Regions from separate parts of the Homo sapiens genome. Here regions 2, 3, 4, 5, 6 and 7 are each linked to region 1. The links are contacts of gene promoters, found by promoter capture Hi-C in blood cells and fetal thymus (Javierre and others, 2016). All regions are on one chromosome and are shown on one strand. Each heading gives the region's core, a stretch centred on a gene start or on the middle of the fragment in contact. The rest is flanking DNA. Distances are from core to core; before and after follow the strand shown. Region 1 holds the start of YARS2 (tyrosyl-tRNA synthetase 2). Region 2 has its middle 2.9 kb from the start of LINC02963. Region 3 overlaps SINHCAF (SIN3-HDAC complex associated factor). Region 4 has its middle 96 kb from the start of LINC02963. Region 5 has its middle 14 kb from the start of ALG10. Region 6 has its middle 14 kb from the start of ALG10. Region 7 has its middle 32 kb from the start of ALG10.

The links. Contacts are between HindIII fragments. The CHiCAGO score rates a contact against its expected background, and 5 or more counts as called.
Region 2: a fragment that was not itself captured here is called in contact with the fragment with the promoter of YARS2 in region 1 in 2 of 17 cell types (total CD8 T cells and naive B cells); the score reaches 5.7 in total CD8 T cells.
Region 3: a fragment that was not itself captured here is called in contact with the fragment with the promoter of YARS2 in region 1 in 1 of 17 cell types (naive CD4 T cells); the score reaches 5.8 in naive CD4 T cells.
Region 4: a fragment that was not itself captured here is called in contact with the fragment with the promoter of YARS2 in region 1 in 1 of 17 cell types (total CD4 T cells); the score reaches 5.6 in total CD4 T cells.
Region 5: a fragment that was not itself captured here is called in contact with the fragment with the promoter of YARS2 in region 1 in 1 of 17 cell types (total CD8 T cells); the score reaches 5.7 in total CD8 T cells.
Region 6: a fragment that was not itself captured here is called in contact with the fragment with the promoter of YARS2 in region 1 in 6 of 17 cell types (total CD4 T cells, non-activated CD4 T cells, naive CD8 T cells and 3 more); the score reaches 15.2 in total CD4 T cells.
Region 7: a fragment that was not itself captured here is called in contact with the fragment with the promoter of YARS2 in region 1 in 1 of 17 cell types (endothelial precursors); the score reaches 7.2 in endothelial precursors.

The regions. Positions count from the first base shown.
Region 1 is chr12:32,753,891-32,757,832 of GRCh38, reverse strand. It overlaps YARS2 (tyrosyl-tRNA synthetase 2), which reads left to right and starts at 1,936. Exons shown (of 5, transcript NM_001040436.3): 1 at 1,936-2,737; 2 at 3,748-3,915. The coding sequence starts at 1,959. RefSeq lists enhancers at 1,077-1,716, 1,921-2,150, 2,171-2,270, 1,717-2,356, 2,641-2,800 and 1 more. The HindIII fragment of the contact is 6,832 bases long and covers 247-3,942 here.
Region 2 is chr12:34,220,156-34,224,097 of GRCh38, reverse strand. No RefSeq gene overlaps it. Among named protein-coding and RNA genes, the nearest start is that of LINC02963, 2.9 kb to the right of the region's middle. The HindIII fragment of the contact is 289 bases long and covers 2,171-2,459 here.
Region 3 is chr12:31,297,810-31,301,751 of GRCh38, reverse strand. It overlaps SINHCAF (SIN3-HDAC complex associated factor), which reads left to right. Exons shown (of 6, transcript NM_001135812.2): 2 at 3,528-3,675. The coding sequence starts at 3,548. Among named protein-coding and RNA genes, the nearest start is that of FLJ13224, 25 kb to the left of the region's middle. The HindIII fragment of the contact is 557 bases long and covers 1,472-2,028 here.
Region 4 is chr12:34,121,081-34,125,022 of GRCh38, reverse strand. No RefSeq gene overlaps it. Among named protein-coding and RNA genes, the nearest start is that of LINC02963, 96 kb to the left of the region's middle. RefSeq lists a silencer at 1,776-1,825. The HindIII fragment of the contact is 4,433 bases long and covers 1-3,942 here.
Region 5 is chr12:34,035,021-34,038,962 of GRCh38, reverse strand. No RefSeq gene overlaps it. Among named protein-coding and RNA genes, the nearest start is that of ALG10, 14 kb to the right of the region's middle. The HindIII fragment of the contact is 3,326 bases long and covers 222-3,547 here.
Region 6 is chr12:34,006,841-34,010,782 of GRCh38, reverse strand. No RefSeq gene overlaps it. Among named protein-coding and RNA genes, the nearest start is that of ALG10, 14 kb to the left of the region's middle. The HindIII fragment of the contact is 4,477 bases long and covers 1-3,942 here.
Region 7 is chr12:33,988,558-33,992,499 of GRCh38, reverse strand. No RefSeq gene overlaps it. Among named protein-coding and RNA genes, the nearest start is that of ALG10, 32 kb to the left of the region's middle. The HindIII fragment of the contact is 3,132 bases long and covers 538-3,669 here.

The DNA.
Region 1 (3,942 bases), core at 687-3,186:
CCAGGGTTGCTGGTCTCTTGAATAAAGCTAACTTTACTTTCACTACAGCTCTTCTCTTGGGTTTTTGGCTTTCAAGTGACAAGTGGCCCAGATGTGAGTTTCCTTACGTGTGCTCAGGAGAATTTCCTGCCATACCTACTGAAATCTGTCCCTGATCAAAGTGGTGGACCATATGACTGCAGATTGGCCTTGCGAAGTAGCTCATGCCTGTAATCCCAACACTTTGGGAGGCAGAGGTGGGAAGCTTGCTTGAGGCCAGGAGTTTAGGACCACCCTGGGCAATACAGTGAGACCCCCGTCTCTACAAAAACAAAAAATAAAAATTAGCCAGGCATGGTAGTCCACACCTGTAGCTCCAGCTACTTGGGAGGCTGAGGCAGGAAGATCGCTGGAGCCTAGGAGTTCAAGGCTGCAGTGAACCATGATCCTGCCACGGCACTCCAGTGTGGACAACAGAGTGACACTTAAAAAAAAAAAAAACACTGAAGATCAACAGGTTATGATTGCAAATTTTAAGATATTTTGAACACACTATTTTCTTAAGCAGTTGGGAGTATGTTTAATAGCCTATTGAATGAGTATCTCAAAATCCTATTGAAGTTACTATTTGGCAATGAGAAACTAATTCACTGATAATTATACATGCAAAGAAACTAATTATTAAAATAAGTTTTCATTTTGTTAGATAACTTTATAACGTTAAAAAATGGAAAAGTCCTGTAGGGAATGATTTGGAACATGGCCCAGATCCCAGTCACAGGACCAAGGCACTCAATCCCCCAGCTGCTGGGAGTGTTGGTTGCTTATTGCTCACAGCTGAGTCCCTTCCTGCACATCTCACTCTCCAAAAGCCTTAACCCAGCGTTTTGCTTCCTCCCCAGAAACATCCCACATTTAATGAGCAGTCAGTAAGAGGGTCTAAAGGTCTGCCCCCTGGCCTCAATTCAGGATGACTCTGAAAGGAAATCCCGGCTCCAGAGCCCTTACTGGATTGCCTGAGGCCTCTATTACAAATTGTTCACAGTTCAACTTCTTTCTCCCTCCGCCCAACCCGGCCTCCCTCACTCCATTATAGGTGTTGTTCTTAAGAGCACACTCCAATTACCCTCCTGCAAACCAGTCTCCCCCCCAACTCAGAGTCCAGGGAATTCTACCTAAGACGATTTTGAAAGCGGTCCTAGAAATCAGGCTCTAACATGGGATTTTGAAGCTAGATCACCTGCCAGCCAGCTGCCAATAAGAACCTCATCCCTGGTCAGTATTCAGAGCACCTGTCACGCTGCACGATGTGATTACTAACTTGAATCCACTCATGCTAAGCTGTGTCCCAACCTAGTTAACTGTATTTAAAATAAATAAACCACAGGACTTGATGCATGTACTTTATTGCACTGAGTTTTTCTTGCTATACCTTGGACAAGACTGCCACCTCCTGGAAGAGCCGATGAATACTGGGGACGAGGTGCAATTAGGGAATCGGTACTATGAAATTGCTTGCGTCTCAGCAGCAACTCCCTATCTCTCCGCGAACTTAAACCAATTCCTAACCTTTCTCAACCTCTGTGAACAGCTTTTTGCATGGAACCAAGACTTCAAAGAACTTGCGCATCACAATCTTTTTACGTGAAAATGTAAATACAAGTTAGCATTTGTGAAGCGTTATGTGCCAAATGCTTTAATTTTTAAGGCTCACAACAGCCTTATGAGGTAGGAACTATCATAAGCAGATCCACACTGCTGATGGAAAAATTAAGTTTAAGGGAACGTAAGGCGACGGCTCTGAGGCGGAATCGCCACTTGGAGTCGGGACTCAACTGCTGAGAGCGCAAGCTCCGTAACTACGTAACCGTCTCGGGCATGCGCAGAAAAACACTGAAGCACCTTCCCTAGGAGCTGTAAGTAGGTGGGTGTGGTGGGAGCCTCTGCAATCCCAGCATTCCCTTCGTGCCGCTACCAAGATGGCGGCGCCCATCTTGCGGTCCTTTTCCTGGGGCCGGTGGTCTGGTACCCTAAATCTCTCAGTATTGTTGCCCTTGGGGCTGCGTAAGGCCCACTCGGGCGCTCAGGGGTTACTGGCAGCGCAGAAGGCTCGAGGTCTGTTCAAGGACTTCTTCCCGGAGACGGGGACGAAAATAGAGCTCCCAGAGCTCTTCGACCGTGGCACGGCGAGTTTTCCCCAAACCATTTACTGTGGCTTCGACCCCACGGCAGACTCGCTTCATGTGGGTCATCTACTTGCGCTGCTGGGCCTGTTTCATTTGCAGCGAGCGGGCCACAACGTGATCGCGCTGGTGGGAGGCGCCACGGCGCGCCTGGGAGACCCGAGCGGCCGTACCAAGGAACGCGAGGCGCTGGAGACAGAGCGCGTGCGAGCCAACGCGCGAGCTCTGCGCCTAGGGCTTGAGGCCCTGGCGGCTAATCACCAGCAGCTTTTCACTGATGGGCGCTCCTGGGGCAGCTTCACTGTGCTGGACAACTCGGCCTGGTACCAGAAGCAGCACCTGGTGGACTTCCTGGCGGCAGTGGGGGGTCACTTCCGCATGGGGACGCTGCTGAGCCGGCAGAGCGTGCAGCTGCGGCTCAAGAGCCCCGAGGGCATGAGCTTGGCCGAGTTCTTTTACCAGGTGCTCCAGGCCTATGACTTCTATTACCTCTTCCAGCGTTATGGATGCAGGGTCCAGCTGGGCGGATCTGATCAACTAGGCAACATCATGTCCGGATATGAGTTCATCAACAAGTAAGTGCCTTTAAACCTTGGGGAAATCCTGGGACCAAATAATTTACACACTAGTAGCCTGTGATTCACTCTTAGGATTGTAGTTGCTGCCCTTCGTTCCAGCTCTTGTTGGTTTTATCCCCATTAAGGCTCTATAATGGCGTTAATAACACTGGCTAATAAGAATTAAAGGGCTGAATTAAGGGTATTAAGAGTAAACGGTGTATTCTAAAAATTAGCTGGGCGTGGTGATGCACGCCTGTAATCCCAGCTATTCGGGAGGCTGAGGCAGGAGAATCTCTTGAACCCGGGAGGCGAAGGTTTCAGTGAGCCGAGATCGCGCCACTGCACTCCAGCCTGGGGCAACAGAGGGAGACTCCGTCTCAAAAAAAAAAAAAAAAAAAAGGGAAACAGACCACTAGTGAAGATTTGGTCGGTCTGTTTTGCTTCGCCTAAGTCGTCCTCTCTAATTAGAGAAACTGCTTTTGTGTGTTTATACCAGAACGTGACTGGGCCTCCTTGAGTAGCTAGCCTCTGCTTTAGCTCTGCACCCTCCATGAAACTAGTGTTAGTCCTTGGTTGGTATCTCAAAAAGTTTTTTCAACTCCAAATAATTGACAAGTAATGCGGGTCTAATAGCATTTTCTTGAGAGAGGTGAAGGATAGGGCTAGCTCATGTGCAACAGAGCAAAGCACATGTTTAAAAGGCGTTTAGAAGATTTCCTTTAGTGTCTCTTCCTGACACCCCTTCACCCAGTTTTCTCCTTCCCACTCAGCCTTTCAAAATCTCTAGTCCATTGTTATGTAGCACTTCCCCTTGGCCTGCCTAGAACCTGCCTGGAACCACTCATGAGGTTCAGAATGAATAGAGTAAGTACTGTAACAATACATAAGAGGAACAAGAATTCAGATTTAGGAGGTCAAGGAAGTTTTCCTGGAGCAAGTAACCAGAAAGAAATCTGGAAGGTGAACAGTAGAACCTACCACCACTTGTGCTTGAGGCACATAATGAAATTGTTCTTTATGCGTAGGTTGACTGGAGAAGATGTATTTGGAATCACCGTTCCTCTAATTACAAGTACAACTGGAGCAAAGCTGGGAAAGTCTGCTGGCAACGCTGTTTGGCTAAACAGAGATAAGACATCTCCATTTGAATTGTATCAATTCTTTGTCAGGCAACCGGACGATTCAGTGGAAAGGTGAGTTCTGAATAATGGGCTGAGAAA
Region 2 (3,942 bases), core at 1,066-3,565, 1.5 Mb before region 1:
ATAATAATAACAACAACAGCTGGACACAGTGGCTCATGCCTGTAATTCCAGCACTTTAGGAGACCAAAGTGGGAGGATTGCTTGAGCTCGGGAGTTGAAGAACTGCCTAGGCAACACAATGAGACCCCATCTCAAAAAACAATAATAATAATAATAAATAAGCAAATGTCTGACATAGCAGCCCAAGGATCTGGCACCAGAGTGTTCTCTGTCTCTGGCATCCATTATCTCTATTGCTGTCCTTTCTGGGAAACAGCTTTCAGGAGTTCTATTTCTGGGAAATTACAGGGACAGCCCTGACAATAATAAACATCAAAAACACATGCCAGAGGGCCTCAAATGCCCTGAAAACAGAGGGTGCTCCCATCCTATGGAGCAGCAAATGCTTTATCGGGTTTTTTTTTTTTCTTAAGTAGCTAAGAACAATTGCTCTGAAGACGCAAAGCTAAACTAACTGCTAACATCCAAACACAGCCTGACAGTGTAGCTGCAAACTTTGCTCCTGATCCATGGGTAAAAGGAGCTCTCAGCTTTGCAGAAGCCTTATGTTGGTGCCGCCTGCCATGGGACAGAAAAGAAGCACCTGTGAGCAAGAGCAATGCACTCAGTATACCACTGCTGACTCCTAAGTGCCCAGAATTTCATCTAGAGAAGTAGCTTTAGAAGTTAGGTGATGAATTCTATTCATTTATTAAAATATAAATATAATATATATATATATAAATGTATATGTTATATATATATATATAAATGTATATGTTTTATATATATATATATATATATATATATTTTTTTTTTAGGCAGAGTCTTGCTCTGTTGCCTAGGCTGGAGTGCAGTGGTGTGATCTCGGCTCACGGCAACTTCCGCCTCCTGGGTTCGAGCGATTCTTCTGCCTCAGCTCCTTGAGTAGCTGTGATTACAGTCATCCACCACCACACCCGGCTAACCTTTGTGTTTTTAGTAGAGATGGGATTTCACCATGTTGGCCAGGCTGGTCTTGAACTCTTGACCTCAAGTGATCCACCTGCCTTTGCCTCCCAAAATGTTGGGATTACAGGGGTGAGCCACCGTGTCCAGCCATTTCTTTTCTCAAACAGAAGAGCAAAGATGAGGGAGTCTTCCAGCCTAACAGCACACCAAGGATATTATCTGCCTGCATTAGGAGCCCCCAGGGTACACAGGATGGCAGGAACTTCCAATGGGGTGAATGAGAGTGACTTGGAATTACTTGGTGTGATCTCTTTGGATGCTTCTGATACCTCCGTGCTTCCTGAAGCTTTTCCACTGGGCTTGGGAAAAGGAGAACCCTTTAATATTTAGTAGGGCAGAGAAAGAAGGAGAATGGAGAAGCCACGTAACACATTCTTCGGTGTTTTACTGGCTGAAAGGGCTGCAGATATTTTACATGCCCCTCAAATTGTCAACAGGCCAGGCACGGTGAATGACACCTGTAATCCCAGCACATTGAAAGGCTGAGGTGGATGGATCACTTGAGATCAGGAGTTCGAGATCAGCCTGGGCAGATGGCGAAACCCCATCTCTACTGAAAATACAAAAATTAGCTGTGCTTGGTGGTGCGCACCTGTAGTCCCAGCTAATTGGGAGGCTGAGACAAGAGGATGACTTGAACCTGTGAGGCAGAGGCTGCAGTGAGCCGAGATTGCACCACTGCACTCCAGCCCGGTGATGGAGTGAGACTCTGTCTAAAAAAAACCCCCCAAACCCAAAATTGCCAACAGGAAGAAGGCAGAAGCAAAACAGGTGCTCATGGCTGCCAGAGATTTGTGGGCCCTGCCTGGAGTAGAAGTCTAAATGCTGGCTCTGCATTGAAGACATGAGGGAATTTCTTTGCCTTGCTCTTGCCCCAGCTCCCTTTAACTGCATACCACGGTACCTCTTTCCTTTCTAGGTGATAATGCCCCATCCATAAGCAGGTTACTAACAAAAAACTCCTCTCCAAACACCTACAGGGGGAAGGTCCCCTTTTACTGAGCACCATGGCTACAATTTTAACAGTTACTGCAAAATAAAAGTTGCTACATTCTCATAATGATGGGTTTTCCCATAACCTGAAAAATTATTCACCGAGTGTCTGTAGCCAGGATGAAAAACACCCTTAAAGTTTAGATATGCATCAGTATTTCCCTCAAGAATAGCACAGGTTAAAGCTTTTATAAAGAGAAAAAAAAATAAGGAGTTGAAAAACATATAAATATAAATAAATAGCCACAAAAAGGGGAAGTTAGAGAGAGACTATGAAAACATCTTAGTCTTGAGGAAACATACAATCTGAGAAGCGATTCTGCAGGACTTGGCTGAAAGTCAATGGGAGGCTGATCAAATGAAGTGATAGAAGTCATGTAATTTGTCATATTAAGCATCTGCAACAAACCCACGTAGAATCCAAGGAATGTAGGTGATCTGACAAAAGGCCTCATGTTTAAAATTTGCCCTAAGCTTCCCCAAATCCACCAAAAATTTCCCCGTATGAGCCACCTTTTCAGATACAGTTTAGCTATCTGTTCTTGTGACACTAGGTTCATTTAAAGAGTTCTTGGGAGCCACGTGGGGTGGCTCACGCCCATAATCCCAGCACTTTGGGAGGCCATGCACAGCAGGTGGATCACTTGAGGTCAGGAGTTCAAGACCAGCCTGGCCAACATGGTGAAACCCCGTCTCTACTAAAAATGCAAAAATTAGCAGGGCGTGCTGCCATCAGCCTGTAATTCTAGTTACTCAGGAGGCTGAGGCGGGAGGATTGTTTGACTCTGGGAGGCAGAGGTTGCAGTGAGCTGAGATCACGCCACTGCACTCCAGCAGCCTGGTTGACAGAGCGAGACTGCCAAAAAAAAAAAAAGTTATTGGGGCTGGGTGCAGTGGCTCACGCCTGTAATCCTAGCACTTTGGGAGGCTAAGGTGGAAGGATGGTTTGAGGTGGGGAGTTTGAGACCAGCCTGGGCAACATAGTGAGACATCATCTCTGCCAAAAAAGAAAAAAAATCCATGTTGAGGCATTTTGTGTAAAAATAGAAAAAATTTCCTGGGCGTAGTGGTGTGCACCTGTAATCCTAGCTACTTGGGAGGCTGAGCCTGGAGGGTTGCTTGAGCTCCAGGAGTTTGATGCTGCAGTGAGCTATGATTGTGCCACTGTGTTCCAGCCTGGGCAATAGAAGGAGACCCTGTTTCAAAAAAAAAAAAAAGAAAAAAAGGCTGGACACACTGGCTCACGTCTGTGATCCCAGCACTTTAGGAAGCCAAGGCAGGTGGATCACCTGAGGTCAGGAGTTCGAGAACAGCCTGACCAACATGGTGAAACCCTGTCTCTAGTAAAAATACAAAATTAGCCAGGCATGGTGGCACATGCCTGTAATCCCAGCTACTTGGGAGGCCCAGGCAGGAGAATCACTTGAACCTGGGAGGTGGAGGTTGCAGTGAGCTGAGATTGGGCCATTGCACTCCAGCCTAGGCAACAAGAGCAAAACTCTGTCTCAAAAGAAAAAAATCTCTCTTTTTTTTACTGTTACAATGACAATAATAGAGGCTTTTCTCTCCAGGAGCTCTAAGTGAAATTAATGAGAATTCTCATGACCCTAGAAAGAGAGATTTAAAAAACACATAGCGCAGGTGTGGCGGCTCACACCTGTAATCCCAGCACTTTGGGAGGCTAAGGCGGGTGGATCCCTTGAGGTCAGGAGATCAAGACCAGCCTGGCCAACATGGTGAAACCCCAGTTCTACTAAAAATACAAAAATTAGCTGGGCTTGGTGGCACGCTTGCCTTTAGTCCCAGGTACTCGAGGGGCAGAAGCAGGAGAATCACTTGAACCCGGGAGATGGAGGCTGCCGCAGAGAGCTGATATCAAGCCACTGCACTCCAGCCTGGGCAACAGAGCCCATATAATTATTTGTATCTTTTTTTTTTTTTTTTGAGAGGTACTTTCAC
Region 3 (3,942 bases), core at 501-3,000, 1.5 Mb after region 1:
TTTTTTAAACATTTCATGGGTTTGTAGATTTTTGGAAATAATTTCAGTTAATCTCAGGGCTTCCCAAACCTTGAAATGGTTAAACACCAACCACTGCTTAACTTGGTTGTTGTAAACAAAGCCCGAAATGAAACCCCTGTGTATTTGCTGCAGATTCCCAGGTGCCTCTTAAGTGTGAGGATAAGCTCAGAAAAGGCTTAATAGGTTTATTAAGTTGTCATCCATTAAAAGGTTCACATGCTCCTTGTGTGTTGCATAAGGACAGGTGTCTGCCACCTCATTGCATTTCTCACTGAGCATTGCCTAGGAGAGGGTAAGCCCTAGGATTTAGATCCCTCTCAGATGTTCAGGCAGAATAATTTTGTCAGGACAAAAGTAAGGTCACGGAACTATATGAAAATGGATTATGAATCCTAAGACATCAGCCTATTCTCCCCTATGTCTAAGAAGAATATTCCTCAGCTTATGACTGGAATGTCTTGCTAGGGGTGCTGGGTAAGTTTTGTGGAGGTCCCCACCAGCAGAAAAAAATCATTGAAGAGGAACACTTAATTCACAATGGCTGCTGATTAAAAAGAAAGCCTCAATATTCACCTATAACCCTAACATCCTTAACAGCTTAGCAGTGTGGTAACTGGCACAAACTATGGCGTCTTGGTCAAATCCAACCTCAGTGAAGGTAGTTCACATCCTAGAGATGAGCTGAATGCTGATAGCTTTGAGGACTTGTTTATTTGGGGGAAGGGAAAGAGATGGTGAGGGTAGAGATAGGAATCTGTCTGTCGTAATAGGATTTGGTCTGTGTATTAATGGAATGAACTGGCCTTTTTTGCTCTGCTTCTTTTGTCCTTGCTGAGAAGGGAGGCTGAAGTTTCCAAGAGTTATGGATGAAGTTGGAGAGTATTAGAGGAACTGTTCTCTGACCTTCTTGATGGTAATGCAAGCTGTTGGGCGAGTTTGGAGAAGAGCGCAGGGTGGTGTGAGGACGAGGGCCGTATTAACATTTTGCCTTAAAACAGGAATACACAAATTAAAGCAATAACTGCTACTCTGCTTTCTTGTTTCTGCAATCTTCTGTCATTTGACATTGTTTTTTCCAAAGCAACATGCGACCATTTTCTTCAGGATTTTCTTTTCAGTTATCATATGGGTTTGTTGTTGGATTGAGAAAAAAAAATCTGCCTCATTTGAGCAGGCCTCTCTAGATCTTTTCTTATGACTGTGTAGAGGGTACTTCCTCATTTTTCTTCCTCTCAAAGACATCAAATTCCCAAGCATTTAACTAAAATTATTATCAACTAAAAATGTTTTTTTTAAAACAGTTCTTAGAGGTAACTGTTTAGACTTAATTATTGAAATGCATGAAGGCCTTCTGCCTTGCCCCCATCCCACTCTTTTGCCTGCCTCTCTCACCAACAAAAACATGGCAGAGGAACAGTTTATTAACAATAGCCTGTTTGAAAGGGAAGCTTCAGTTTTTAGCTAATTATTTGCTAATAAAAGTTTTAAAAAAATTTTCTTTTAAAAGTTGTAAAACCTCTGTCTATATTTCAAAACCCCTCAATACCAAAAAAATACACATAAAAAGCCTGGATATTTGGTTCTGAATCATTTTCATTAATACTTGCTATATTATACTAACCAGAATTGGAATGGAATGGGATCAGACGAGATAATCCAAAGACAAATACAGCCATATGTCACACAAGGACGTTTCGGTCAACCACAGACTGCATATATGATGGTGGTCCCAAAAGATTATGATACCATATTTTTTTGTACCTTTTCTATATTTAGATGCACAGATTCTTACCATTGTATTACAGTTGCCCACGGCATTCAGTACCGTCACACGCTGTATAAGTTTGTTGCCTTGGAACAGTAGGCTATCCCATATAGCCTAGGGGTGTTGTAGGCTATTGCCATCTTGGTTTATGTGAGGACACTGATGTCTGCACAAGGATGCCCAATGATGCATTTCTCAGAATGTGTCCCCATTGTTAAGCAACACATGACTGTACTGAAGCTTTAGGTTTACTCATCTAAGTTTATTTCTAAAACAACTTTAAAAAGATAGTGTTCTGTGGTAATAACTCCTAAAACTATGGACACGAAAGTGATATTAATAATTTTCTTGGCCGGGCACGGTGGCTCACGCCTGTAATCCCAGCACTTTGGGAGGCCGAGACGGGTGGATCACAAGGTCAGGAGATCGAGACCATCCTGGCTAACATGCTGAAACCCTGTCTCTACTAAAAATACAAAAAGTTAGCCGGGTGTGGTGGCGGGCACCTGTAGTCCCAGCTACTAGGGAGGCTGAGGCAGGAGAATCACTTGAACCTGGGAGGCAGAGCTTGCAGTGAGCCTAGATCGCGCCACCGCACTCCAGCCTGGGTGAAAGAGTGAGACTCTGTCTCCAAAAAAAAAAAAATTTTTTTCTTTTATTGTTGCTTTATGTGATAATTTTGTGATAATTTATAGTTAGACCCTCATACATACACACATCCTCTGACTTGTCCATTGGAGTTTAGTTTCTATATTCATTGCCTTTTCATCACCTCTCTTAGTCCGGTTGTTTTGGTGAGCTGGCCCTTGATTTGGATATTCCAAATTACTTTTCCTAAGGTACAGATTTACTGCCAGCTACATATTTGCATCCAGCCCCAGAGCTGTTTTCATTCCTTCCTTGACGTTGAGATTTTTTTTTTTTTTAACAGGAGGACTGCAATTTATTTCACTCTACGTCTCTGGGACATTTGCCTCCCACTGTTACTACTCTCAGGCACAAAGCCTTGTAGAAGAGGTCCACAAACCTCTAACAACTAAGGGGCAGATCAGCGGTCAGACAACATGAGCTCGTTCTTTTTTTGTCTTAATGATAATAAGGAATTATTATTATTAAATTCTAACCTTGGATTTTTGTGAATTTTACATCTTCCCTTCAGCAGTTTCAATTCAGGGGCAAACTTGACTGCTTAGAACTTCCCATTTATCACAGAAGAAATCCCCTCTGAATTCCCATTAGGCAAAGTAGTATGGGCTGATGCATAGTGAGCTAGTTGTGTGCTTAGTATCAAATAGTATTCATGGTAAATGCTCAAAACTTCCCCAGAGGGGAATCACGTTAATGCAAATGTGCAAAATAAAAAGGTGTGTCTTAAATTTAAGGATGCATCCTTAATTGTGTACAGCTTCATTATTTTACAGGATTGTTTGTGGCATTTCTTACTTCAAAACCTGATTTTAAAAAATGCTTCTCTTCCCCATTTTTAGATTGCATGTTTGTTAGGCGAGTTAGGAGGTAGTAGAGTCCTCCTTAAATAACTAGGCTTTTCTTTGTGTTTTATACGCTTGCCTTGATAGTGCCAAGAATGGAGGTCGATCCAGGAGGTCTTCCCTTGAGCTGCCTGCCTGTCTTGGTCATATAACACCAAGTTGCTTGGGGGTGGGGTGGAGCAGAGAGAACTCTTTAATGGTTCCTTGTTACAGCCCTCAACAAAGATATGTCAATTCCCTTGGCTTTACAGACTATTGCCCAGAAGAAAAGATGTTTGGTTTTCACAAGCCAAAGATGTACCGAAGTATAGAGGGCTGCTGTATTTGCAGAGCTAAGTCCTCCAGTTCTCGATTCACTGACAGTAAACGCTATGAAAAGGACTTCCAGAGCTGTTTTGGGTAAGATCACCTGATGTTTGTACTATTCTTAGAGTGAAAAAATACCACAGCATACAGAAATATTTGTAAGCAAGGTGATTGGAACAATGTGCTAATAATAAAAATCACTTATTCTAATTTAGGCTGTGTAAGTCTCCTGCTTTTTAAATGAATCAAACAATGCTGACAGCCTACTTTTTTCCAGATTATGAGGAGCTACCACATTAATCGTGAAGCCCCTTAAAGTTGTAGCTAGACAAACCCTTTTGTTGTTGACTTCCTTTTGTG
Region 4 (3,942 bases), core at 934-3,433, 1.4 Mb before region 1:
AGTAAACTCCTGAAAATAGCAAACAAAATATATGTAAACCGGAAGGAAGAGGCAGAAAGAAAGAAAAAAAATAAAAAAAAAATTAAAAATAAAAATAAAAACAAAAAGACAAGTCAGTTTGTAGCTACTGCACTAACAGAAAGTAACCCTGGATTTGCTAGAGGGCATAGCCAAGGCAGAGGCCAAGGAAGAGGGCAGACAAGACCGGGAGAGGAAAGCCAGTGCCGGTTGGACAGCAACCAATGTACAAGGTTCAGGCAAATCGGCCACTGGAAAAATGAGTGCCCCGATAAAAAAAAAAAAAGAATGAAGATGATAGTCAATGGTCTAACACTCGAGGACAGCATTCGGTTGCTAGTCATGGTGCTTCAAAGGCAGATCCTGATCTGATCAGCTTAGCGGGGGCCAAGCATTTAGAGGACTAAGACAGACCGGGCTCCATCCTTTAGGCCCCGGGGAGCCTATGGTCTCTATGGAAGTAGGAGGCCAATTAATGAAATTTTTGGTCAATACTGGTGCTGATTTCTCTGTGGTAACTCACCCAATTAGCCCCCCCCCCCCCACAAAAAATTGTGCCACTATCATAGGGGCTACTGGGGCCAAAAAACGGAGACCTTTTTACAAATCCAAGAGATGTGTTATTGGGGGACAAGAAGTACAGCATGAGTTCCTATACATGCCAAACTGTCCAGTGCCCTTGTTGGAAAGAGACTTACTCCAGAAACTGCAGGCACAGATTTCCTTTACACCTAAAGGGAATATGACCCTGGAGATAGGGAAGCCAAAGGCAATGGTATTGACTCTAACTGTCCCAAAAACTGAGGAATGGCGGCTCTATAAACTGTGTACCAGGAGGCTGCCAGAGCCAGACCTACACAATATGTAGGGAATGCTTTTCAAGGTACCAGGTGTATGGACTGAGGACAACCCCCCCTGGGCTTGCTGCAAACAGACCCCCAGTGGTAGTAGAGCTTAACCCTCATGCTGCCCCGGTACCAGTCCGTCAATACCCCCTCCCCAGAGAGGCAATTGATGACATAACAAAACATTTAAATCAGCCCTATAAACAAGTGATTATAGTAAAATGCAAGTCTTCCTGGAATACTCCTCTGCTGCCTGTTCGCAAGCCAAATGGTGAATACAGGCCAGTGCAGGACCTCCAGGGTGTAAACAAAGCCACTGTCACTATCCATGCCATAGTACCCAACCTATACACAATGTTGGGGTAGATTCCTGCTGAGGCCGCGTGGTTCACGTGTCTGGACTTAAAGGACGCTTTCTTTTCCTTGAGACTGCTTCCCAAAATCAGCCTATATTTGCCTTCCAGTGGAGACAATCGCAGTATACCTGGACAAGGCTGCCACAAGGGTTTAAGAATTCTCCTAGGTGGGAATTGAACAATGAGATCACATGGACACAGGAAGGGGAATATCACACTCTGGGGACTGGGGTGGGGAGGGGGGAGGGGGGAGGGATAGCATTGGGAGATATACCTAATGCTAGATGACGAGTTAGTGGGTGCAGCGCACCAGCATGGCACATGTATACATATGTAACTAACCTGCACAATGTGCACATGTACCCTAAAACTTAAAGTATAATTAAAATAATAATAATAATAATAATAGTAATAATAATTAAAAAAATAAAATAAAATAAAAAAAGAATTCTACTATTTTCGAGGAGGCTTGGGCTACCGACCTTGAGGCTTTTGCGCCACCTAGTGACAATTGTGTGCTATTACAACACATTGATGATTTGCTCTTCGCTGCCCCCATGAGGGAGAAATGCCTCTAAGGAACAGAGAGGCTTCTTCACTTGCTGCGTGAAGCTGGTTACATAGTGTCCAAGGACAAGGCAAAAGTCTGCTTTCGGGAGATTGAATATCTAGAATTCATGGTATTCCAAGGCCAGTGCAGACTTAAAAGTGCATGCAAGGAGGCTGTATGTGCATTGCCCACCCCAGTTACAAGGTGGCAGGTCAGGGAATTTCTAGGTGCAGCGGGATTCTGCCGAACCTGGATTCCCAACTTCTCCCTTATAGCAAGGCCCTTATATGAGACTACCGAAGAAAAAAAAAGAGGGCTGCTCCTGTGGAAAAAGAAACAAGAAAAGGCCTTCAAAGATACAAAGGAAGCTCTCATCCAAGCTCCGACGCTAGTGTTGCCAGATGTAAAAAAAAAGTCCTTCTTTTTGTACGTGGATAAACAAAAGGGAATGACAGTCGGAGTCTTAACTCAATTGTTGGGTTCTTGGCATCAGCTGGTAGCATACTTACCCAAAGACTGGATTTGGTGGCCTTAGGTTGGACCCACTGCTTCAGGGCGTTGGCAGCTACTGCAATCCTTATAGAAGATGCCAACAAGCTAGCCCTAGGTCAAAAGTTAATAGTTAGGGTGCCACACGCTGTAATCACCTTAATGGAGCAAAGAGGACATCGTTGACTGTCCAATTCTAAAATGCTAAAGTATCAAGGGCTTCTGTATGACAATCCCCAGATAACACTAGAGACTGTAAATACCTTAAACCCAGCTACCCTGCTGCCTGTGGAGAAACCTGATTGAAAGGACGGTGGATTGCCTCACTGCTGGCAGGATCTTCCCCACTGTTGCATAAATACGGTGGACAAAGTGTTCTAGAGCTGGGAAGATCTCAGAGATACCCCCTTGGAGAGCTCAGATGTTAAATACTTCACTGATGGCAGCAGTTTCATAACAGATGGGGTATGATATGCAGGGTATGCGCAGTAGTGACCCAGCACTCGGTGGTTGAGGCTCAGGCCTTACCTTCTGGGACTTCTGCTCAGAAGGTTAGATTAATAGCATTAACCAGAGCACCGTTATTGGCCAAGAAAAAAAGTAAACATATATACTGATCAAGATATACTTTTACAATCCTGCATGCCCGTTGGACAATATACAAAGAGACAGGAGTTTTGACTACTAAAGGCAAAAAAAAAAAAATTGCAATTATTAAAAACCATATGGGCTCCAGAGAAAGTGGCTGTCATTCATTGCAAAGGACACCAAATTGAGAAAAGCTGAGATGCAGGGCAACAGAAAGGTAGACCGAGAGGCTGGGCGGGCAGCAATGAGCAAGGCTTTACCTGAAAAAAAAAACTTTATCAATTCCTCTCCTTATAGAGCCCCCTTTGCTGGAGGTACCCAATTACTCTTCAGTAAAAAAAACTTGGTTTGGTCAGAAAACAAAAAAATATATTAAAGGTGGATGGTGGCTGTTCTCTAACAGGAGGCTAGCCATCCCAGGGACAATAGCCCCAAGGTTTGTGACACAGATCCATCAAGGAACACACATTGGAAGGACAGCCCTAGAAACTTTGATAGGTTGGCATTTCTATGTGCCACAGCTCTCTGCCATCACCTGTACTGTTTGTAAACAAGGTCTATCCTGTGCCCAGAATAATCCAAAACAAGGACCTACTCGACCTCCAGGAATTCAGGAAGTAGGGGCTGTGCCTTGTGAAAACCTGCTTGTAAACTTTACTGAGTTACCTCTAGCAGGAGGTTACCAATATATGCTAATGTTTGTTTACACCTGCTTGGGGTGGATTGAGGCCTTCTCCACCAGGACTAAAAAGACAAGAGAGGTGACAAAGGTACTACTAAAAGACATCATACCAAGATTTGGGTTTCTTTTAACCCTAGGATCAGACAATGGTCCTGCATTTGTGGCAGATGTAGTACAACAGCTGACTCAACTTTTAAAGATCAGATGGAAACTGCATACAGACTACTGACCACAGAGCTCAGGGAAGGTAAAATGGATGAACTGGACACTCAAACAGCTACTAAAAAAGTTTTGCCAGGAAACTCACGATGGGATCATGTCTTGCCCATGGTCCTCCTCCAGGTCAGGTGTACACCTACAAAACAAACTGGGTATTTGCTCTATAAAATATTGTTCGGAAGGCCACCCCCAATT
Region 5 (3,942 bases), core at 635-3,134, 1.3 Mb before region 1:
GGATTACAGGCATGCACCACCACGCCCGGCTAATTTTATATTTTTAGTAGAGACAGGGTTTCTCCATGTTGATCAGGCTGATCTCGAACTCCTGATCTCAGGTGATCCACCCGCCTCGGCCTCCCAAAGTGCTGGGATTACAGGCGTGAGCCACTGTGCCAGGCCTTACGTATTCTTAATTATGGGGAATAGAATGCAGCTATGATTATCTGCTTCAAGCTTCTAACCACATGTTTTCAAAATGCTCAATGACAAAAATAAGCAAATATATTTGCTTAAAGCTAAAAATGTTCAAAGAATGCATTTAAAAAAATGAAAAAATCACTAGCATCTGTGACATTATGAAGGTAAGTAAAATGGTACCAAGTTCCTGTCAGACTAATAACTGGAAAAGCTGTCCAAGAGTGCCACCTTGAGGGAAAATTTAAGACAATGCATTTTGAAAACAAAATTGGCATAAAGGGTTTCAGCGTTGCCCATCACAGTTACCCCAACTAAAGAACATCACTGTAAATTATTATAGTACAAGTGAAGAGATAAGCACGGTCTTTCAACTCAGATCCTATTATATTCTTCTGTCTTTTCATATCAGTATTCCACGTGTATTTCATTTGAACGTGCCTCCTGGATGAGATATTATTTTAATGGAGAAAGGTATTCTTAGAGTCACTGGTATGTGAAGAAAGGATTCCTCTCTTTTTTTCTACTCTTTCTGGTGGTTCCTTTCTCTGTCTTCAGTCTTCCTACTTACTCTCTTCCTTCTTTTCCTAGCAATACCCCTAAAGTTCTCATGCTCATGATCCCCAGAAATACTTGTGCTTACGTGCGGGCAGGCAGTGTGTGGGTATGTGTCGGGGATATGGTTGGAGAGCTGGAGGGAATAGAATATGACATTCTCATATGCTCTTAAAATATTAATAACCAATTAGCTTTAATGTGTTACTTTTCCTTGCATTTCCTGCATTTTATGATACATTTCCCTGCATTTCAAAGAACAAAATTTATGACCAAGACATAGATTTCTAGATGTGGCTAAGTAAAAACTACTGACTTAGATCAAGATCATCCCCTCCCATGGTTCTCCAAAGCCCAGGGCCTGTTTATACCTCTGAAACCTTACAGTGTATTTGGCCCAAAGACCCAATGTATACATTACACACACACGGACACACACACACACACACACACACACACACACAGTGAAGATTCTAGGTCAAGCTAGGTTTCTTCATCTAAATTTGATTTCTTCACTAGACCTTTAGAGAGTGATAGCGTTGCAAGGAAAATATAAAAATTACATAGAACAGTACTTACTGAGAAAGACTGATAGGGTACCTGCTACAGCTCATGAAACGTTTCTCCTAAGACTGCATCTCTCCTCCTGGCTTCAAACCCTTTCAGGCCAAATATTTTAGGGAGGTCTCCGAAACTCCTCATGTTTCCGATGGAGAGCAACCTTCTCTCTGGCTTCTGCATCACTTACAACAGGATCTACAGGAGAGTGGAGGGCCTGTCTCACAGAGCCATTCTTCTAGTTTTAACTGAAACCTGGCTATCATCTCTAAATAACTATTTTTCTCTCCACACCCATTTATCTGTGGGTCTGTGTGTGGGACGTGCTTTCCTTGCTCCTCACTGTATACAGCAGAGCACTGTTCTTTCTTCCTAAAAATAACCTCAGTTCTTTGGATGCACAGGCCATCAGATGATGCAAGTTTAGCAGGAATCAGTATAGCGCCCTGGTTAAGAGGGCATGTTCTGGAGCCACATTTCCTGTTTGTAAACTGTTTCAATTCCCTATGTCTTATTTTCCTTGTCAGTAAAAATGGGGATCATAATAGCATTTGCCTTAGGGCATCTCTATGAGGCTTAAATAAATTCATGTTCAAAATTTAGACTGGTGCCTGTCACATAGCACTTCATAAGTGTTGGCCACTGTCACCACCTGCTTCTCAGCCATATGGTAGTTTAGTTTACTGTGTAATTTGTTTGCATCACATTATTCTGTATGAAATGCTTTCTGCAATGTCTCCACAGGTTTCCATACAAATAATCTCCAATGTGAATTTCTCCATGAAGTATGTCTTTGTCCCTTCTGCCAGATGTGATTTCTATTCTCAAGTAAACACCCTAGCTCTTATATTCTTCCTCAGTGATAATCAATCATGTTGTACTTTGCATTAGTTAGCCCCCATTAGGTGAGTTCATCTTGTCTGGAGTAGGTCACTTTTGTGTTTCTTGATACCATGTTTTTCACACAAGGTTCCCTCAAGTTGTCATTGCATTTAATAACAAATACTATGACAGACTTTGTTAGAGTACCATATTAGAAGTTGATATGGTTTGGCTGTGTCCCCAACCAAATCTCATCTTGAATTTTAGCTCCCATAATTCCCAGGTGTCGTGGAAGGGACCCAGTGGGAGGTAACTGAATCATGGGGGTGGGTCTTTCCCATACCGTTCTCCTGGTAGTAAGTCTCACAAGAGCCAATTGTTTTATAAATGGGAGTTGTCCTGCGTAAGCATTCTCTTTACCTGCCACCATGTAAAATGTGACTTTGCTCCTCCTTCACCTTCCACCATGATTGTGAGGCCTCCCCAGCCATGTGGAACTATGAGTCCATTAAACCTCTTTCCTTTATAAATTACCCAGTCTCGGGTATGTCTTTATTGGCAGCATGAGAATGGGCTAATACAGAAGTCCATATTCCAAAAACTTACTCTTGCCACCTAAACTATTTTCAGGAACTCTCCGTTTTAGTTTCTCAAAACCAAAAGTAATACCCACAACTTCCTTATCTAATAAACAGACTACACATAACACATGTTAACTACAATCAAGACAAGGTTCCTAGGCAGGTCATGGCAGAGGAGCTTTTATTATATTAGCTTTCCTCTAGATTGACTCATTTAAAAGGGGAAAAAAATCTTTTTGGAAACATTGAAGAGTAGACAAAAGAAGGCAGGAACTGGATGGACTCAGTTGAAAGATCTCACTGGGTGCGATCCATGTTTATATGACTTTTCCCTCAGAGGGCACACCCTAGTTAGAAAGGTACAATATGATTGGTTTGAGGTGTGAAAGGGCGGAATTCAGGACTGCTAGAGTAGCTGTGAATTAGGAGAAATCTCAGAAAAGAGGGAGTCACAGAAGAAGGGAATCCCAAAATCTGTGTATAAGTCCTGGGCTGACCTCTGAGCTGCATATGATGGGAGAAACTCGAAGACACCCAATGGAAAGTAAGAGCTGGAAGTCTGCAAACACAGAGTAGGGACCACTTTCTTTTTTTCACCACAAGACCCAAAGACTGGGGCTTGAACCCTGCCAAGTTTAGATGTGTTTGGTAAATACTCTGAGCTTCCTACAGACCTAGCCTAAAAAAGAAACCCAAGCCCCCACAAGTTCAAGGTGATCAGCCAGTAATTTAACTGCTTTCTATTATTATGAGAATAAAAGGAAGATTATACAGACACCCAGGCTAGTTATGAGCACACATCACAGGTGTTTAAAAAGATTTGGTTCTATTTTAAAATGACTAATAAAGCTTAGGATTAGGTAGGTGGTAGACAGGGGAAAATGGCTAACTGGACAGTGTGAGGGAAATACAAAGCTTCTAATACTTGGCTTAGGATAAGAAAATGTGTTAGATATAATACATTATAAAATATTATCAAACATGAATTTATTTAGAAATGAAATAAAAACATGCTATTTGAACAAACTTTTTTTATAAAGAATAAGTTGACTGAAAAGCAGTTTTAAATAACATGAACTCACAAATGACTTTTAGAAGCCAAATAAACATTTCCATTTTAGAGAACAGTATGTAATACATAACTTAAAAGCATATAGAACACATATTCATACATTCTTAAAAATAAGAGATTGTTATTCCACAGAGAATTTTTCAAAAATCTAAAGTATGTCCTGTTTAACCAACA
Region 6 (3,942 bases), core at 705-3,204, 1.3 Mb before region 1:
TGTCTTAGTTTCCATAAAATCTGTTATTTTGACAGTGTTCATTTAGCATGAATAATAAATCAAAATATTTTAACCTAATAATTGATGGTCATTATTCATAGAACAACAATAATTAAAATTTGATTTGTTTATTTATGATAAACATGGTAGAATAATTAGCTATGTGAAAAGCATTTATTTTAAATAGGTTCATGTGTCTTTTGATAAACAAAAGATCTACACATTTTATCTCTGTCCCTAGTACATTTATTCCATCACAGAACTTCTTAGTTTGAAAACATAATTTATATACACAGTTTGCCTTTTAAACTGGAATTTCAATCTTTCAACAAGTGTTTATTAAGCACTAAGCACTAGGGAAAAAAGCAGTTAATACAATAGGAATAACTCCTTTTCTCATGGACAACCATCTACTACAGTGTTTCCTAAGCAGCAGTATTTTTAGATGTTGTCTAAAGGTACATAATTCTCTATAAAAATTTTAAAACACAACTTTCCACGATAATTAAAATGTATTTTATGCTGTCTAATATGATCATCACAGCCACATGCAACTAGGGTAGTTGAACAGAGACTTTAATTAACTAATTAATTAATTAATTTTTTTGAGACAGAGTCTCTCTCTGTTGCCCAGGCTGGAGTGCAATGGCTCCATCTCGGCTCACTGCAACTTCTGCCTTCTGGGTTCAAGCAATTCTTTTTCTCTGCTTCTCGAGTAGCTGGGTCTACAGGCCTGTGCCACCATGCCTGGCTAATTTTTGTATTTTTAGTAGAGAGGGGTTTCACCATATTGGCCAGGCTGGTAATTTAATTAAATATTAACTTAAATATTAATTTTTTATATTAACTTCTCTTTAATGATTAGTGGTTATTGTACTAGAAAATGCAGTGCTAGATGTTCTTAGAGTTGATACTGCAATGCGAACTAGGCACTTGTGTTTGATTTTATGTTTATACCCAGGCTTGCGATGTTTGGAGGCCCAATGATAACATGGCTGACCATCCTACTGATAAATGTTTCCCAATGCATAATTTGAATAGTGAAAGATGGTGAGAGCTTTTGGGTATCATAAAACTATAGCAAATATGGACACTGGCCTGGTACAGTGGCTCACATCTGTAAATCCAGCACTCTGGGAGGCCGAGGTGGGCAGCTCGCTTGAGCTCAGGATTTTGAGACCAGCCTGGACAACATGGCAAAACCCCATATTTACCAAAAATACAAAAAATTACCCGGACATGGTGGTGCACCTAGCTACTTGGGAGGCTGATGTGAGGAAGGCTTGAGCCCAGGAGGTGGAGGTTGCAGTGAGCCGAGATCACACCACTGCAGTCCAGCCTGGGTGACAGAGTAAGACCTCATCTCATCTCAAAACACACACACACACACACACACACACACACACACACACACATATAGTAAATAAGAATGTCTAACTGGAAAAGTCCAATGGCATAGTAGCAAGTATGCAATTTAGGTTACAAGCATTGCTTAAGTCTATTAATTTGCCTTGTAAATTTGCTTCATATATTTGTTTAAGAATTATAAACAAAAGCTAACTCAGTTTTATGCTGTACTTATTTAAATAAAAAATAATTTAAATATTTTATCAATGCTGAAGAGAACTTTTTTTCTTGAAAAGGGTCATTAGTCACTGAAATTTGAGAAATATTAGTCTAGCAAATAAGATGTAGTCACTGTGTTGGCATTATTCAACTAGCTTTGTGGCCTATTTGACTCTCACAACCACTCTGTGAGGCAGTTATAACCAAGATCACCAATTTATAGCTTTGGAAAGAGGTTACTACTTCAGCAATCTGCTTAAAGTCCTATAGAACAAACAGTGATTCAGGGTTTAAATTCACATCCTTTTTATTCCAGAATAGTATATGCAGTATGCTAAGAAGAATAATGGCTCCCCAAGGGTGTCTACCTCCTAATCCCTACAAATGGTGAATGTGTTACCTTAAGTGGCAGAAGATACTTTGCAGATATGGTTAGGTTAAGCATCATGAGCCTGTTCAGTAGGTCCAACATAATTACAAAGGGTCTTAGAAAATGGAGGAAGGAAGCTCAGAATGAGAGAAGGAGACATGATGATGGAAGCAGAGGTCAGAGTGATTTGAGAAAGGGACCACAGGCCAAGGAAGGCAGGAGGCCTCTAAGGAACTAGGAAGGTTAAGGAAATGGATTCTGCTCTAAAGCCTCCAGAAGGAATACAATACTGCTGACACCTTGAAGACATCCTTACAAGGTAGTTTAGGGTCCATTTCATACCCCTTTGTGAGGAGGGACTTGGGGGAGAGTGTAGGGAGGGATGTTGTGCTTCATTAAAAACCCCTTTCTTCCAGCATACATCGCAATAAAGGAGCTTTCAATTCAGTAACATGTAGGACACTCTCAAGAGGATTTCTGATAAATACATTCTTCTCCCTCATTTAATTTCCAGTGATGTTTTATGGGCAATTAGTTACAGATTGGATACATACACTTTAAAGTGTTTAGTTTATTGATCCCATAATCTGGCTCAAAAACAACTTAGGTTTTTATTAGAAAACAGACGAAAAAAATGAAATAGACACATTTGGTCCTGAAAAGAGGCTGGAGAATCTAGGATGTTGTATAGAGACACGCGCTCAGAATTATCCACCAACAATATTGTCACCCTCCTATGCCAACACTGAAAATGGTTGCCATTTTTCAGAAATGAATCATCTCTACTTTGCAAAATAATACAAAATCCCAGAGTGGAAAGTGAAAGAAGATAAAGGTAAGGGGTTAATTACTATATTTTAAAAATAACGCTTTGTAAGACAAAATTGCTTATTTATGTTTTATTGAGGGCCAGGAGGGCATCTTCATCATATCACATAGAATTAGTTCTGCAAATAGTGTAATTACTATGCTTGTCTCATTATGCTGCTATTTTCTGGTTTTCTAGGATAAGGAGAGAAAATTATTGGCTGCCTTTTCACAGATTCCTGGTTTTATTTTCTCTCTAGGGTATAATTTGTAAGAATAGAAAATAAATCTGTTACACATTGTAAAAAATATAGAATCATAAACTAGTTTTACTTAAGTTGAATATATTCATATATACCAATAAGAGAAACAATACTATTAATTGTATTTATGAAAGACCCAAATTTACAAAGCCGAAGAGTATGAGTTTTTTATCTTTACATAAAACCTACAAAGATTTGTAAAGCAACTATAGATTACCATTTTACAGCTGAAAAATTCTGAGTCTAGAAAGATCAACATGCTTAAAGTCATGCAGATGGTAAAGTAGTTGAATCTAGAACTTGAACCCAATACTTGGCATTTTCTTTTGGTTTTGGGTTGCTTTTTTGATTCATTGGTGAATGATTTGGTAAATGAGATAGGTGCTCCTAACACCTAGGAAGTTAGAATTGTCCATTGGAATAAACAGCTGATTTCATTATAGAAACTTGGATAAGGTATTAGGAAAGGTTAAGAAAGGAAGCCACCATTTATTGTGCTGGAACTTAGAGGCCATAGATGTAAAAATTTAAACGTTAGTGAAACAATCAGTTCATTACCTAGACTATCTCCATAATTACAACCTTCTTTATATTTGAGTACTCTTACGTAAATTGTAACTGGCTATTCAATTTTATATTATGGTGATGGGTATATTGTCTAGGTAATGTTTGGTGATAGGTGCTAGGCACTTCTATATTATCTGATTGAATCCTCATAGCAACACTGAGGTACATATTATTTTACCACTAAAATCTGAGACTCACAGGTTGAATGCCCTTCCTGAAGTTATACAGCTAGAGAGTGGCAATCTAATAAACATTCTTTCCATCATGCTATTCCCTGCTACTAAGTTTGAAGGGAGTTACTAACTGTCTTACTCCATGACAGATTCCTGCAAATCAAGTAAAAAAAAAAGATTCTTTGGAGAGGGCATG
Region 7 (3,942 bases), core at 854-3,353, 1.2 Mb before region 1:
CTCTATCTCTACAAATAAAAAAAAATTTGGCCAAGCATGGTGGTGCACACCCATGGTCCCAGGTACTCAGGAGGCTAAGACAGGAGGATCAATTGAACTTGGGAGGCTAAGGCTGCAGTGAGCCATGATCATGCCACTGTACTCCATCCTGGGTGACAGAGTGGGATCCTGTCTCAAAGTTTAAGAAGCATGACTCTAGACAGAATTATCATTACATGTAGACAGATCCATTGTCTAATTAGAGGGTCTCTACATGCTTAAGGTTGTATTATATTTATTCCAAAATTATCCCTATATCTATCCATAGTTCCCACTTAAGCCCTTTTTAAAGGTGAGCCTTAGAAAATTCAATAAGGTACCTTTAGAAAAAGATCGCTAGCATTTTGGCTTTAAGCAATAAATGTTTGACAAATTATCCATCTTTATTAATAGAAATTTAGATCATTGTTTCATTCTCACTGCTATATATTCTCAACTGTATAGATATCTCACCAAAAACCCTCCCATACCGCAAGTAAAACCTGTTGATTTAAAGCTTTTTTCCTAATTAATTTGTCTAAAGATATTGTGTTAATATTTGTCCAAAAATATTTTATTTTTGTTACAATAAAATATTGTAAATAATATTTACAATATTTTAAATCATTGTAATGCATACATATTAATACATGCTACTTTATATATTTTAGGAATAATTAATTCCTTTTTATTTTTTCCTTGCATCTTAAATTTGTTAAAAGAGCTCTCATAACAGTTATGTATTAATTAAAAGTTTAAAAACTGCCAAACAAATACATTCATTTCTTTATGTGCATTGTTGCTTTATCATCTGCATTTGATGATTCTAGTTTTTCACATCTCTTTGGTTCTAATTCTTTCATTTTTGTTCTCCAGTTTCTTGTGTTCCCTATTATCGTTGAATATATGTTCAATATTGCATGTGAAAAATTGCAAGATTGATTTGTGATGTATTATGTAGACAGCTTCCTCCAAAGGAGATATCATTTGGTTCTGTCAAGCACCAGAGCACATTACTAGTCAGTAACTACTTAAACCAAGTTTAGGTTTTGAAATTCCCTGATCCAAGAAAGTTAAACCTGGGATCAAATTCCCCATGTAATAACTGCCTCACTTTCTGTTCTCCTTAACCTTGACGGCACAACCTTTAGGGAATCCCAGCTTGGAATAGAGATGCTCAAATCTAAATCTGCTAAAATATATCTTATGCTGGTTCTGAATTCTAAGTTACGTTGCTCTCACCTCACAAAATGGAGAAAACTAGGAGTCCAATTTTATGTTATCAGCAAATGCTCTCAGGGCAAAAGTGGCTTCAATGTTTTCCTCTCAGTCTGGATCCTTGTTTTCTCTTCACTTTTGGCTTGGCTCTTCCTCACTGCCTTTCCATAATGCTTTTATGAAAGATTTAAAATTATTTTTAATTAAAAATGTTTGTCTAGCTATATATTTCTGTGACGTGGCATGAGTGATCTGAATAGCTTCACTGACCGTTACAGAAACAGGTGGGCTTCCTCTCTGTTTTTTAACTATGTCCAAAAATAATGGGATTTTGATGATATTAGGAACTTCAGCACCTATATGAAATCTGCTTATCTCATAAATGAGATATCTATTTTGATAACCTGTTAACAAGAGGACCTGGCAGGTCATAGCTACCTTGTATTTCAGGTATTTGCAGAGAAGGTGCATAAAGGAGGAGAGTTACTGTGACCAAAGGAGAAAGATGCTCTAAAATCAGCTCACGGATTGGCTTCCATCTGGGTGTTCTGCTGCTTTCAACTTAGTCTCCTCTCTCTAGCATTAATTGTCACCTGTTGTTTTTCCTCCGGTGTCCTTACTTTCTATTCTTCACTATATTATCGTGCCTCTTTGGCTTGCTTTCTTTCTCTCTACTCGGATTTCTTTCTTTCTGTGCAACTAAACTCATTGTTTTTCTTTGTGCTGCTTGCGATGGCTTTCTGATGGTTACTTTCTGTGTCATTTACTTAGTTATTTTTCCTCTTCACCTGTGATATTTGGGCTATTTTATACTAATCTAAATATTATTTCTTTCCTTTAGAAATACTTTTTTATGTGTGTGTGGGCGGTGGGGAGCGGGGAGAGAAGGTAAGAGAAAAAGACTAAAAAGATGTCCTTCTACAGGAAAATAATATCCCTTTCTATCAGCTGCTTCTACTTTCTTTTACTTCAAGATTTCCCCATTTATATCAACTCACCCACAACAAAATCCATTAAAAGGTTTAGTTGACTTGCTAGCACATCATTAAACATCCATTTCAGTTATGTGTGTACTATCACTACATGTACATAATTATTGCTAGCTACAGTGCTAGCTAGCTGGATTTATTCTTCCTAACAAAACTCCTTATTCTGTTTCCTATAATGTCAGTAGCAGCTACACACCCAATCCTCATAGTTGCCAACAGCAACCATTTCTGATTTCCTGACCCTCCCTTACAAACGGCAACAACAAAAAAAGAATAGGATCCAGTAAAAACATCTTGATTTAAAAGCATCTTGATTTTCTGGAACAAGTCTGTTCTTCCAATCATCAAAACAGATTATCCATGTCTCCTTATTTCAATACATAAACATTTTCTTCTTCAGAATGACCCCCCACTTCACCAGCTACATGAGGTTGTCAGTGAGTTAATTGACAATTCTAACTCTATATTTAAATTGTCTGATTAAATCCATGGAGCAATGTCAGAAACGTCAGAGGAAGGAGTCATAGCTATGGAAAGAATACAGCTCTGAAATTTAGAAACGTGGGTTTTAGTTTTGGCTGTTACTAGCTAGTTGTAATCTGGACAAATTATTTAATCCTCTATGTCTGTTTCCTTTCTCATAGGATGAAATGGCTTGGTGAACTTTAGTCAAGTTAGTCAATATTCATGATAATGATAGAAAATTCTTATTTATATAATGTAAAACAAACTCTGCAAAGTGCCATATATTCCTTATTTATTATTTCATTTATCATTTTAAGAACTCAGTAAAGTAAGCGTACTTACTATCTACTAATCAGGAAATTAAAACTCAGATTATGCAGTTTTCAAAATGAAATATTAATACATGTCAGGGCCAGGTTTCAAATCACATTATTCAACTCTTTGAATTTGCATTACACTTCTCTTCTATTCTTAGCATGATTACGGGCCACGTCCTTTTGGCTACCAGTTATGATTTAATAGTGTTCCCTAAAACGTCATCTAAAAATAAAATAATACATATAGCCAAATGCTAATTATATAGCAGTAGCAGAGGTATTCAGGAAATTCGTCAGTTTTCTTTTTCTTCCCAGTTCCTGTGAGTCATTGCTCATTGTGTGAAATAAGATGCCCTCAGGTGAATAGCTAACTTTGTTAGAAAAACACCATCAACCATGAGCAATCGTGACAATAAGGATTTTCCTGTCAAGTAGTACTTTTGGATTAGACACAATACCATTGTTAAGTAGTGGGGAGTCCAGCTGCCTGGCTTCTTTCCTTAAATGTGTAACTAAGCATACTCACTGTTACCCACTGAAAGCCAATTAGTATTTGCAACCTGAAGAGCCATCTTTGGGGAGCAAATTTCTAACTGGATAACTGACCAAACTAACTCAGTATCATTTATAAATTTAATGATGCTTGTTTGACTAAGAAAGCTTTAATGAATAACTATAATTAATGGCAAATTATTTTTCTTACATATATATTAAGATTTATAATCCAAGAACTTCCTAGAACATGACACTTTAATGTGTTTTCTTATCAAGGGTTATCTATTCTTTTGGCATCTGTGTGATAAATACAGAATGTTTCTCAGCTCATACGTTTTCTGGAAAAAGATCTGTGACTGTGACAGTGGGTGAGAGGAATGGGGAATTAGAAAAAGAAATAACACTTTAAGGGAGACATGGACTGTGACTAAGGAATAGAA